4 separate regions of the Homo sapiens genome follow, and regions 1, 2 and 4 are each linked to region 3. The links are contacts of gene promoters, found by promoter capture Hi-C in blood cells and fetal thymus (Javierre and others, 2016). All regions are on one chromosome and are shown on one strand. The core of a region is centred on a gene start or on the middle of the fragment in contact, and the rest is flanking DNA. Distances in the headings are between cores, read along the strand shown.

What was found. Contacts are between HindIII fragments. The CHiCAGO score rates a contact against its expected background, and 5 or more counts as called.
Region 1: a contact is called between a fragment that was not itself captured here and the fragment with the promoter of RFT1 in region 3, in 1 of 17 cell types (neutrophils). The highest score is 6.2, in neutrophils.
Region 2: a fragment that was not itself captured here is called in contact with the fragment with the promoter of RFT1 in region 3 in 1 of 17 cell types (M0 macrophages); the score reaches 6.1 in M0 macrophages.
Region 4: a contact is called between a fragment that was not itself captured here and the fragment with the promoter of RFT1 in region 3, in 3 of 17 cell types (M1 macrophages, neutrophils and M0 macrophages). The highest score is 6.9, in M1 macrophages.

Annotation. Positions count from the first base shown.
Region 1 is chr3:53,339,143-53,341,842 of GRCh38, forward strand. The region is part of intron 3 of DCP1A (decapping mRNA 1A); the gene reads right to left. Among named protein-coding and RNA genes, the nearest start is that of DCP1A, 7.0 kb to the right of the region's middle. The HindIII fragment of the contact is 5,444 bases long and covers 1-2,700 here.
Region 2 is chr3:53,318,254-53,320,953 of GRCh38, forward strand. It overlaps DCP1A (decapping mRNA 1A), which reads right to left. Exons shown (of 10, transcript NM_018403.7): 4 at 1,154-1,220. Among named protein-coding and RNA genes, the nearest start is that of SNORD38C, 14 kb to the right of the region's middle. The HindIII fragment of the contact is 510 bases long and covers 1,005-1,514 here.
Region 3 is chr3:53,129,086-53,131,785 of GRCh38, forward strand. RFT1 (RFT1 glycolipid translocator homolog) reads right to left here and starts at 1,350. Exons shown (of 13, transcript NM_052859.4): 1 at 1,253-1,350. The coding sequence starts at 1,315. RefSeq lists enhancers at 1,206-1,395, 1,406-1,455, 1,496-1,695, 1,706-1,755. The HindIII fragment of the contact is 8,425 bases long and covers 1-2,700 here.
Region 4 is chr3:53,274,197-53,276,896 of GRCh38, forward strand. The region is part of intron 1 of LOC107986087 (a long non-coding RNA gene); the gene reads left to right. Among named protein-coding and RNA genes, the nearest start is that of TKT, 20 kb to the left of the region's middle. The HindIII fragment of the contact is 359 bases long and covers 1,107-1,465 here.

The sequences.
Region 1 (2,700 bases), core at 53-2,552, 210 kb after region 3:
AGCTCGCTGACCTGACAAGACTATTTTCCACTTTTAAGACTATGTAGACAAAACACACACTCGAGAGGGCTTAACACTCACAAAATCATTTTCTGTTGTCTTATCACTTCTCCCCAATACAGCTATTCCTTTAAATACTTTCCCTAATGAAATGACCTGGTTAAGTGAGTTTTCTGTTCAACTAAGAAAACTTTTGTTTCAATCAGTTGAAAATTTTCTAAAGTAAAATGCATTAATGCACTTTCTCCCCAAGAATGTTCTAGTTAACATAATAAATACTCCTGATGATTTTAGGTCTCACTATAACAATTTAACCTATGATACTACAGTGGAGTTAAAGTTATAAAATATTGACATTTTAATGCCGACCCCAGGTTATTCTCTGGATATCTGCTTGATTTTCAGAAAATAAAACCTAGTATTAGCTTGTTTTCTTATAATTTGCCTTCATTTCTTCCACACACGAACTATAAAAATATTTCCAGACAACTGAAGCTCTAATTAGTTAGCTTCTGGTTACTCATGGTTCAATTACATTTGTGTTATGTCACACTTTCAATTTCACAGGACTTTTGCCTTGTGAAAAAAATATAATACAATTCATCTCAGGTTTATGCTAAATGGTAACTGGGTCCGGATAACTTTCCCTACTGACTACTTTAATAATCAAACCACTTAGGAGTGATGGCTAGATTAAGTTTCCAGGCAGTAAAGAACAGAATTAAGCCTATTTCACTTAAAAAAAAATTGGATCCATATTCATTTGCAGAATTTCTCCCACCCTCTTTTCATTTTTTGAGTCAGGGTCTCGCTTGTTGCCCAGGCTGGAGTGCAGTGGCGCAATCATGGCTCACTGCAGCCTGGACAGCCTCCTGGGTTCAAGCGACTTTCCCACCTCAGCCTCCTGGGTAGCTGGGACTACAAGTGTGTGACACCACACCTGGCTAATTTTTCTATTTTTTTGTGGAGTGGGGGTTTTGACATGTTGCCCAGGCTGGTCTCAAACTCCTGGGCTCAAGCAATCTGCTTGCCTCGGTCTCCCAAAATCGTGGGATTGCAGGTGTTGAGCCACTTTGCCCAGCCGAATTTTCCCTTTAATGGAATATTCAGTACAAAGAAAAGAGCAATCTGAAATAATTACATTGTTAACATTAGTTTAAATAAATCCATCTGAACTTACAGCTATTACAAAGCATGTCTAATATGTCCACAGAATTTAAAATCTGAGAGGTAATTACCTGGACAAATAGTTTACTGAGAAGTCAAAAGATAGAACCTATTTCACTTATACTTCAAAGTGTGCTACGGAAAAGAACTTGGGGGTTTCTAGCTTTAAAATAGGCCTTGTTACTTCTCATTCAGGGAATTAAGAGGTGTATAATTTTTAGTAACTTTTTCTATTTTATACTGAAGACATCCCCCAAGACCAATTACCCCCCCGCCAAGTGAAATTCAAACACATTAACTTTTACTTTTTAAGTTAGAAGCAACATTTCTCCAACTATATCCTTAGATGCCAATTAGAGCACAATCATTGTTACCATAACCAGTTTTCATATCCCTATAGTCAATGTCCAACAAACTGTCCTCAAACACCCATACCTTCAATATCCATACTAATACACTGGAATCAAGTATATTTTTTAGTACTGTAGTTTCTTGGAAGGGCCACTCTAGCTTTGCTGACTACATCCAATCGTTATTAGAGATTGTAAAAATGCCTGAAAGAACCCTGGACTAAAAAGCAGAAGAATAGTCATAATCCTAACTCTCCAACAGGGTAATAGTTATGCATCTCTGAGTCTCAGTTGACTTAACTGCCTGCTTACACCACATAGGTAACTGTATCGTTAACATTAAAGCACCACAGCTCTTGGCTCAGTGCTGGTAACCAGTAGACACTCAATTAAATAAACAGATAGAAAAACCTTACTTAGAAACATATTCAGACAAAATAAAGTAGAAAAAGTAATAAATATCTTAAAAAAAAAAACCCATCACCACTATTCTGGGCAAAAATAATATTTTCTGGCCGGGCGTGGTGGCTCATGCCTATAATCCCAGCATTTTGGGAGGCCGAGGCAGGCAGATCACAAGGTCAGGAGATCAAGACCATCCTGGCTAACACGGTGAAACCCCTTCTCTACCAAAAATACAAAAAAATTAGCCAGGCGTGGTGGCGGGTGCCTGTAGTCCCAGCTACTTGGGAGGCCGAGCCAGGAGAAGGGCATGAATCCGGGAGGCAGAGCTTGCATGAGCCTAGATCACACCACTGCACTCCAGCCTGGGCAACAGAGCAAGACTCCGTCTCAAAAAAAAGAAAATAATAATAGTAATAATAATACTTTCTTTGTGGAAAGAATTATCTGTATCTGTTCCCATCCTGTGTGTCCCAAACTAAGTTCTGTTGCTTAGGGACATGGGCAGCTGATAGTCCACAGCTGCAAAAAAACAAAGGCATAAACCTTATTTTAATAAACCGACAACAGAAATGTAGTGCTATTAAATGAAATAGTAAACTAAATTATATACAAAAGAATGTTTCCAGTTTCAGAGCCCAGTTTATTTATTTATTTTTTTGAGACACAGTCTCATTCTGTTGCCCAGGCTGGAGTACAGTGGCGCGATCTCAGCTCACTGCAACCTCCACCTCCCAGGTTCAAGTGATTACAGGCGCCTGCCACCAAGCCCGGCTAATTT
Region 2 (2,700 bases), core at 10-2,509, 190 kb after region 3:
GTGACTGCGCCACTGCACTCCAGACTGCGTGACAGAGCGAGACTCTGTCTAAAAAAAACCAAATAAAGTAAAATAAAATAAAAATAAAATAAGATTAGACTGTTAAAAAATTTAAGATTATTTTCTTTTAAACATGTGATTGAAAACTGTAAGAGAGCAAAAGGAATTTTGATTTGACAGATGGGGATGGTGGAGGGGGGAGAGAGGTCCACATTTCTGAGAAGATTCAGGCAAAAACTGAAAAAAAGCAGAGGTGCACCAGAATATACCGTCTACCTATTATAGCATTTTGCCCAGAGCTCTGTAGTCCCTCAGGCCCCCTGAAGCCCCGTGTAATGGGCTTCCAGAATCCAGAATGGCAGTCCAGCAATACGGATAGGTCACACAAGGGCTGGCTTCTACAGGCTAGCTTGAGAGAGGACAATGAACTGCCCTTTAGAACATTAATTCAAGGAAAATAATTTTCTAAATTTCAAGGTTCTGAGTCACAAAAAATCTTCTGGAACACAACCCATGAGTGGATTGGGGCCTGTTAAGCCTAGAGTCTGTGTCAAAAACAAGTTCACTTAAAAGAACTAAATACAGATGTGTGTATGAGTTCTCTATCAGGCTATCACATATGGTATCACTTGTTACAGTGGAAATCTGCACAGAACCTAAATCAGAGTTGCTGTATATGGTCAGGCTGTACACCTGATGCAGATATCCTCTGGAGCCGGGCAGTTTGGCAGCCTTAACCTACAGGTCCAACAGTAAAGTTCTGGTTAAATCATGATCTGTCTATAGAGCTGGATACAATGCAGCTGTCATAAATACTACAGAGAAAGATTTAATGCCCTGGAAAAATGCTGTTGATATGAAAAGCAGTATACATACAGTAGGATCCTATTTTTGTAAAAAAACAATCACACACATCTACTTAATATATACACAAAGAAGGAAGACTGGAAGGAAACTGAAATGCACACTGGGAGGAGTTAAGATAATAATTATATATATTTTAAAGCTTTTCAGCCTTTTCCAAGTTTTTGGCAGTAAAAAGAAATTGGGGAAATACATGAGTTGGCAGACTTTAGTAACAAAGAGAAGTGGGAGGGGATTATTTTTCATTTCTCACATATCATCAGTTAAATTTATGGAGTAATATACTTACTCAGCCATGAGTTTTGCTATGCGGTGACAGTCATTCTTGTCATAAAACCAGATACTATATATCGACACTTGAAAAACAAAGGGAAAAAAAGATAAGAAGAAATGAGGTTTCAACATTTGGGTGTATGTAAATAATATATTATCATCATGGAATTCACTAAATGTACCATCAGACCCTCAAATTGTTAATACTCTATCTAAAGAAAACAAGTATCTCCTCCCCAAATTCTGTTTAATAAAATCAGGACAGGTAAAACATTCAGATAAAGATTACACAAAATAGTTTTAGACATTATCACCAGATCTCAGTGAACCTAAGATGTTACTAAGTGTAAGATGCAACCATTATTTATGTACTATCAAGCTTTTAAGCAAAAGGCTCCCAATTAAACTAAGAATCATATTGATTCTAAGATGCATTCTAAATTGATATTAAAATTGTTGCCGGGCATGGTGGCTCACACCTGTAATCCCAGCACTTTGGGAGGCTGAGGTGGGCGGATCACTTGAGGTCAGGAGTTTAAGACCAGCCTGGCCAACATAGGTGAAACCCGTCTCTACTAAAAATACAAAAATTAGCCAGCTGTGGTGGCGTGCCTGTAATCCCAGCTACTTGGGAGGCTGAGGCAGGAGAATCGCTTGGGCCCGGGAGGCAGTGGTTGCAGTGAGCCGAGATCACGCCACTGCACTCCAGCCTAGGCAACAGAGTGAGACTCCATCTAAAAAAAAAAAAAAGATATTAAAATTGTTACAATACAAAGCTTTCAAAACAAACCCCAGCTCTATATCCATCCTATGACTGACTGTTTACATGTGAAATGGACTGAGCTCAGTCTATGGCATTTCTTATCCCATTCTTTTTATTCCCAATATGGTGCTCAGTTCAAAGAAAGCCCTAAACAAACTTGCTGCAAGATAAATGAACTTTATTAAAGATTATAATATATTAAAGCTACTATAACTGCTTTTTGGATAAGGTAGAGTAGAATACTGAACATACAAGCTGAAACAGACACACGGATGGATAAGACCCATTGCTACCATGTGGGCCCATATGATGACACACCTCAGCATACCTTGTACCTCCTTAAATACTTACAATGATTCCCTAGCACAGAAATGGCAGGTATCATTATGCTTTTTTTAAGAAAACATTAAAACTTTTTATTTTGAAATAATTGTACCTTCAAATGCAACTGTAAAGAACAGACAGATCTTGGTGCCCTATAAATTGTTTCCTCCAATGGTAACATTTTACAAAATTATGGTATACTATCACAGCCAGGATACTGACATCAGTCGAGATACAGAAATTTCCATGGCCACCAGGATACCTGGTGCCCTTTTATAGCCCAAATCCACCTTGCTCTGGCCCCTCCCGTCCCTGACTCTTGGCAAATAGGAACCTGTTCTCTATTTCTACAATGTTGTAATTTCAAGAGTATTATATTACATAAATGAAACCACAGAAGTCATAGAAGACTGCTGTCCATTCCAAGCTGGTTGTAATGAGATCCTCTTTGCTATTCCTGCTCCACTGACTTCATG
Region 3 (2,700 bases), core at 100-2,599:
TAAACTCAGTTATTTATGTAGTGAAACAGAAAAAAAAAATCCCTAGGTAAACTTAGAATGGCTAACATTTACTAAGCACATATCACGTGCAAGGCACTCTTCAACATGCTTTCCATAGGTTATCTCATTTCATTCCTACATTGACTATTTTAAAAATACTTATTACCCTAATAAAAATAGCTACATTTATTAAGTACTTGTAGTGTGCCAGGCACTTAAGAGGCATGATTTCATCTAATCTTCCTAATGACCCTGTGAGGTTGCACTATGATTCTCATTTAAGATGAAGAAACTGATACAGAAGTCATCGGATTTATCCCGAAGGCAGGCATCTAGCAAGTGACAAGGCCCAAACTCAAGCCCCATTCTGCTTGGTTCTTTCTTCTGCCCTCCATGTGCCTCTCTAAGATAAGGGGTAGGGTAGATTCGGGACTTGTGTGAAGTAGGGTTGATTGGCTCAAGAGTGAGACAGAGAGATACTGAGCCACTTGACTTAAGAGGTTCAGCTCCTGGGGTTGAAAGAATCTTCAGATACCATTTGGACTAACTGGCCTGTATCATACCTGACAGATGACAAAAATTAGGGCCAAGAAGGGAAGTGACTTGTCCAAGATCACATAAACAGAAGATGCAGCCAACATGTATTAAATGCATACTAAGAGCCGGGTACTGTGTTAAGTACGTTTATTTGAATGATCCCAATCAATCCCTGCTTATGAGCTAAGTACGACATATTATTACCCCCATTTTACTAGTGAGGAACTCAGGCTCTGCAGGTGAAGTCACTTGTCCTGGGTCACGGAGCAATCCAAGCCTAACTCCAGATTTCTCTTCTTAGCTATGCCATATGGACTCTCGGAACTCAGTGGGACTCAAAGTTTGAGGAAGGTGTTTGATGAAGGAAATGAACCCCTTGCCTGAAAAATATCAGATTCTCGAGCACGAAATACCAGTCCCTCACCCCCGCCACCTGATCTAATTCACTCCTACTGCCATATGGGAAATAGAATGCTCAGAAGGAAAGCGGCTTGTCTGCAGTCACCCGGCCTAGACTCTAAAGGCAGGCTCCTATCTCCGGGCCAGGGTCCCCCCTCATCAATGCCACCGTCTCCGGTCGACCCCCCCACCCCCTCCATTGCGGGGTCCACCTCGGGACTGGGTCGGCCCTGGGGCAGGCTCTCAAGGGCCCAAGGGCTGCCATCCCGCGAATCCCGGCTGCAGTACAAGCTGGAACCTGAAGGGCAGAGAGTACCTGCAGGAGGAGACCGGAGGAGGCCAGCCGGGCCGCGTGGCCCAGCACCTCCTGGCTGCCCATAGCCTCCGCGCCAGGCTCAGACACCAGGAAATGCCGCCGCCACTCCGTTTAGTCGCGATAAGATGGCGTCACGGCGCGCCTCGCTGTCTGATTGATGGCCTTGAGAGAGGGGGGCGGGGCACGAGAAGTTCTGGTCCTTTAAGTGGGCCTGTCTCGGGCCGTCTGTTATGGCGCCTGGCTCTTTCTATTTCGGTAGGTTTTGCGCTGTCTGTCGCTTGTGCGCTGTCTGTCCCTCTCTTCCCCGTATAAACGAAATAGTGTGGCGAGTACTAAGAGATACCGTTAAAGAATCCAAAGTTCCTTCTCTGAGGCTTTCAGCCACCAACCAAGAAGCACTAACTTTCCTGGCCTCATCTGCCAAAAGGGGAACAAACTTCTCACTGGCCCGTTAAGAAGATTCTCACCATTGACCTTTGCTTACAGAATCACAGCCACAGACCCTCTGAATTAGGCTGGACAGGAATTGTCCTCATTTAACAGAGAAAGAACTGAGGACCAGAAGTTAGATATAGCACTGTTATGTGTATGGTTTTGTGAAATCCTTCCGAAAGCTCTGAGAATTGGCCCCTGTGGTTAGAGATGAGTAAAGCCTTGGAGATGGGAAGTGACTTGTTCGAATCTACACAACTTGTTTCCTGACTAAGTGGATACCAGGCTCCTGATCCTAAACTTATCACTCTTGCCTGTATGCTAGAAATTGTGAGGGCAGAGTGGAAGAAGGACTGGAAGTGCTTTGTAAAAAAATGTAAAGCGCCCAACATACACAATCAGCTGCTGTTCTGTCAGTGTTCTTATTATCTACCAAGCAGGCTGTAGGAAGCCCAGTCTTTCCCCAATCTCTTTCAGTCCTCACATGATTTGGCCCCAACCTATCTTCTACTACCTTTCACACGATCATTGCCCTTCCCAACACTATCTAGGCCATAGCCATTCCGAGTCCTTACTGGTCCTCAAACAGGCGGTGACTCACTGGCCTTTGCTCCTCCACCCTCTTTGTCCAAAGTGTCTTCCCTGACAGCACCCCTTGCCCTCCTAGACCACACTGTCCTGACTTTCCTGGCCAACCACAGCTGGTACCTGCTGTGGACTAAATGTTTGTGTACCCTCAAAATTCATATGTTGAAGCCTAATCCCCAGTGTGATAGTATTAGGAGGTAAGGCCTTTGGGAAGTAATTAGGTCCTGAAAGTGGAGCCGTCATAATGGGATTCATGTCCTTATAAAAAGAGATGTCAGAAAAATGATCTCTGTGTTTACTATTTGAGGATACAGCAAGAATGTAGCTGTCTGCAACCACGAAGAAGGCTTTGTAAAATGTAAGGCGCCCAACATACACTTAACAGGAACCAAACTGGCTAGCACCTTGATCTTGGGCTTCCAGCCTCC
Region 4 (2,700 bases), core at 36-2,535, 150 kb after region 3:
ACTGCACTCCAGCCTGGGCAACAGAGTGAGGCTCTGTCTCAAACAAAACAAAACAAAACAAAAACAAAAACAAAAACAAAAAGCAAAAAACCCCAAAAAACAAAACAAAAAAAACCAAACCAAAAAACCTATCAATTCTCCTGAGAACTAACAGTAAGGACTCACTCACTGCCACGAGAAAGGCAGGAAGCCATTCATGTGGGATCCACTCCTGGGGTCCAAACACCTCCCACCAGGACCCACCTCCAACATCAAGATCACATTTCAACATCAGATTTGGAGGGGACAAACATGACAAATGTCAGCTTATGATTTCTTGTGGAATTGCACTTCAAATTTATTCAGACTCATCTGAAATAAATGTTGGTTGAACATGATGTGACTGTCACATTGACTTTGCATCACCTCTCCCCCAGCCATTCCATCTCTGCTGGTTATAAGAAATCTCTTACTAGCAGTCGTTTAATTGTTGTTTACTTTAAAAGTCGCTTACTTTAAAAGTCGTTTACTTTATCTTAGTTTATTTTTTAGAGATAGAGTCTTGCTCTGTTGCCCAGGCTGGAGTGCAGTGGCACAATCGTAGCTCACTGCAGCTCCTAGGCTCAAGTGATCCTCCCACCTCAGTGTCTAGAGTAGGTGAGACCACAGGCACATACCACCCACACCTGGCTGATTTTTAAATTTATTTTGTATAAGGGGTGGGGATGTTGCAATATTGCCCAGGTCAATCTTGAACCCCTGGGGTCAAATGATCCTCTCACCTTCGCCTCCCAAAGTGCTAGGATTACAGGTGTGAGCCACCTGTGTCCAGCCTAGCTGTCTTTACTTTTGGCTAATGTAGCCTGGTGAACCTGAAGAGACATGCAAGGTGCATAAGGCTCTCATGGGCTGGGAGCCCCATGGCATAGGCTCAGCATGGGTTCCTTATACCTCTGTGTGAGTGTGGCAGCTATCTTCTTACCTAAAACTCCATTCAGCAAACTCTAAGAGGTTTAGAATCTTGAATTGATCTAAGCCCTTTAGAAAGCTCTTAGGACTCTTCATATTACATGTAATAGGTAGCCAGTTCATACTGCGTCAAACATGGAAGTGGAGGGTGAGCTTCAAGCTTGGTTTGATTCTGTGACTGGGTATTTCTTGCTGTTGCTTCCTTCTGTCTTCATCTGATGGTGGGCTTCCTGCTCATCGACAGCCTGGCTGCACCACTTCCCGCCTCTCCTCTGGTGAGAGAGACTGTCTGGGTCCTGACAGCTGAGACAAACATTACTTTTCAGAAGACTCAACGAGCTGTTATTCATACACTTCTTATTGAAAGATCAGATTTTTTATAGCAACACCTAATCTATGAACAAGGACCCATAAACAGTGAGGGAAAATGTCTTTAGAGACAACCAAGAAATCTCAAACCCATCTGTTCAATTTAAAGAGGAAACTCTACAGCTCTTATTCAGGACCTGTTGACTTAAGCTTTTCACAAAATTCCAATGAACTTGGTTACCTGGCTTCCTAGAACTTGACAGGTGAAAAGCAGCAGGTGAGAAGCTTTTAATAAACAGCAGTAACGTGAATGACCTCAGACACTATGAAAAGCCTCAAGGATAATTTATCACTTAGGCAACGGAGTCAAGAAAGGAATTCCGGCCGGGCGCAGTGGCTCTCGCCTGTAATTCCAGCACTTTCGGAGACCGAGGCGGGTGGATTACCTGAGGACAGGAGTTCAAGACCAGTCTGGCCAACATGGTGAAACCCTGTCTCTACTAAAAATTAAAAAAAAAAAAAAAAAAAGTAGCCAGGCATGGTGGCATGTGCTTGTAGTCCCAGCTACGTGGGCGGCTGAGGCAGAATTGCTTGAATCTGGGAGATGGAGGTTGCAGTGAGCCGAGATCGCACCACTGCACTCCAGCCTGGGTGACAGAGTGAGACTCTCTCTCTCAAAAAAAAAGAGAATTCTAGAGTACCTCTCCAGGCTGCTTAGTTCAGGTCCTTGACCACCTCTGCTTAATATGCAACCTTTGGCACAGACTCAGACTCAGTCACTCTCAGCTTCAATGTCCTTCTCCTAACATGGGTTATTGTGAAGATCAGGAAAATAATCAACAGCAATTCTTTAATATTTTTTTTTTTGAGATGGAGTTTCACTCTTGTTGCCCAGGCTGGAGTGCAATGGCGCGACCTTGGCTCACCGCAACCTCCACCTCCCAGGTTCAAGTGATTCTTCTGCCTCAGCCTCCCGAGTAGCTGGGATTACAGGCTTGCGCCACCACACCTGGTTAATTTTGTATTTTTAGTAGAGACAGGGTTTCTCCATGTTGGTCAGGCTGGTTGCGAACTCCCAACCTCAGGTGATCCGCCTGCCTTGGCGTCCCAAAGTGCTGGGATTATAGGCGGGAGCCACTGTGCTCGGCCATGCTAAAAAAAATTTTTTTCCCCCTAGCTACTGGGGAGGCTGAGGCACGAGAATCACTTGAGCCCGAGAAGTGAAGATTGCAGTGATCAGAAACCACGCCACTGCACTCCAGTCTGGGCGACAGAGCTAAAAAAAAAATGAGGCAGGGTCTGGCTCTGTCACCCAGGCTGGAGTGCAGTGGCGCGATCTCGGCTTACTGCAACCTCTGCCTCTCAGGTTCAAGCAGTCGTCCCTCCTCAGCATCACAAGTAGCTGGGACCACAGGCGCCCATCACCACACCCAGCTAATTTTT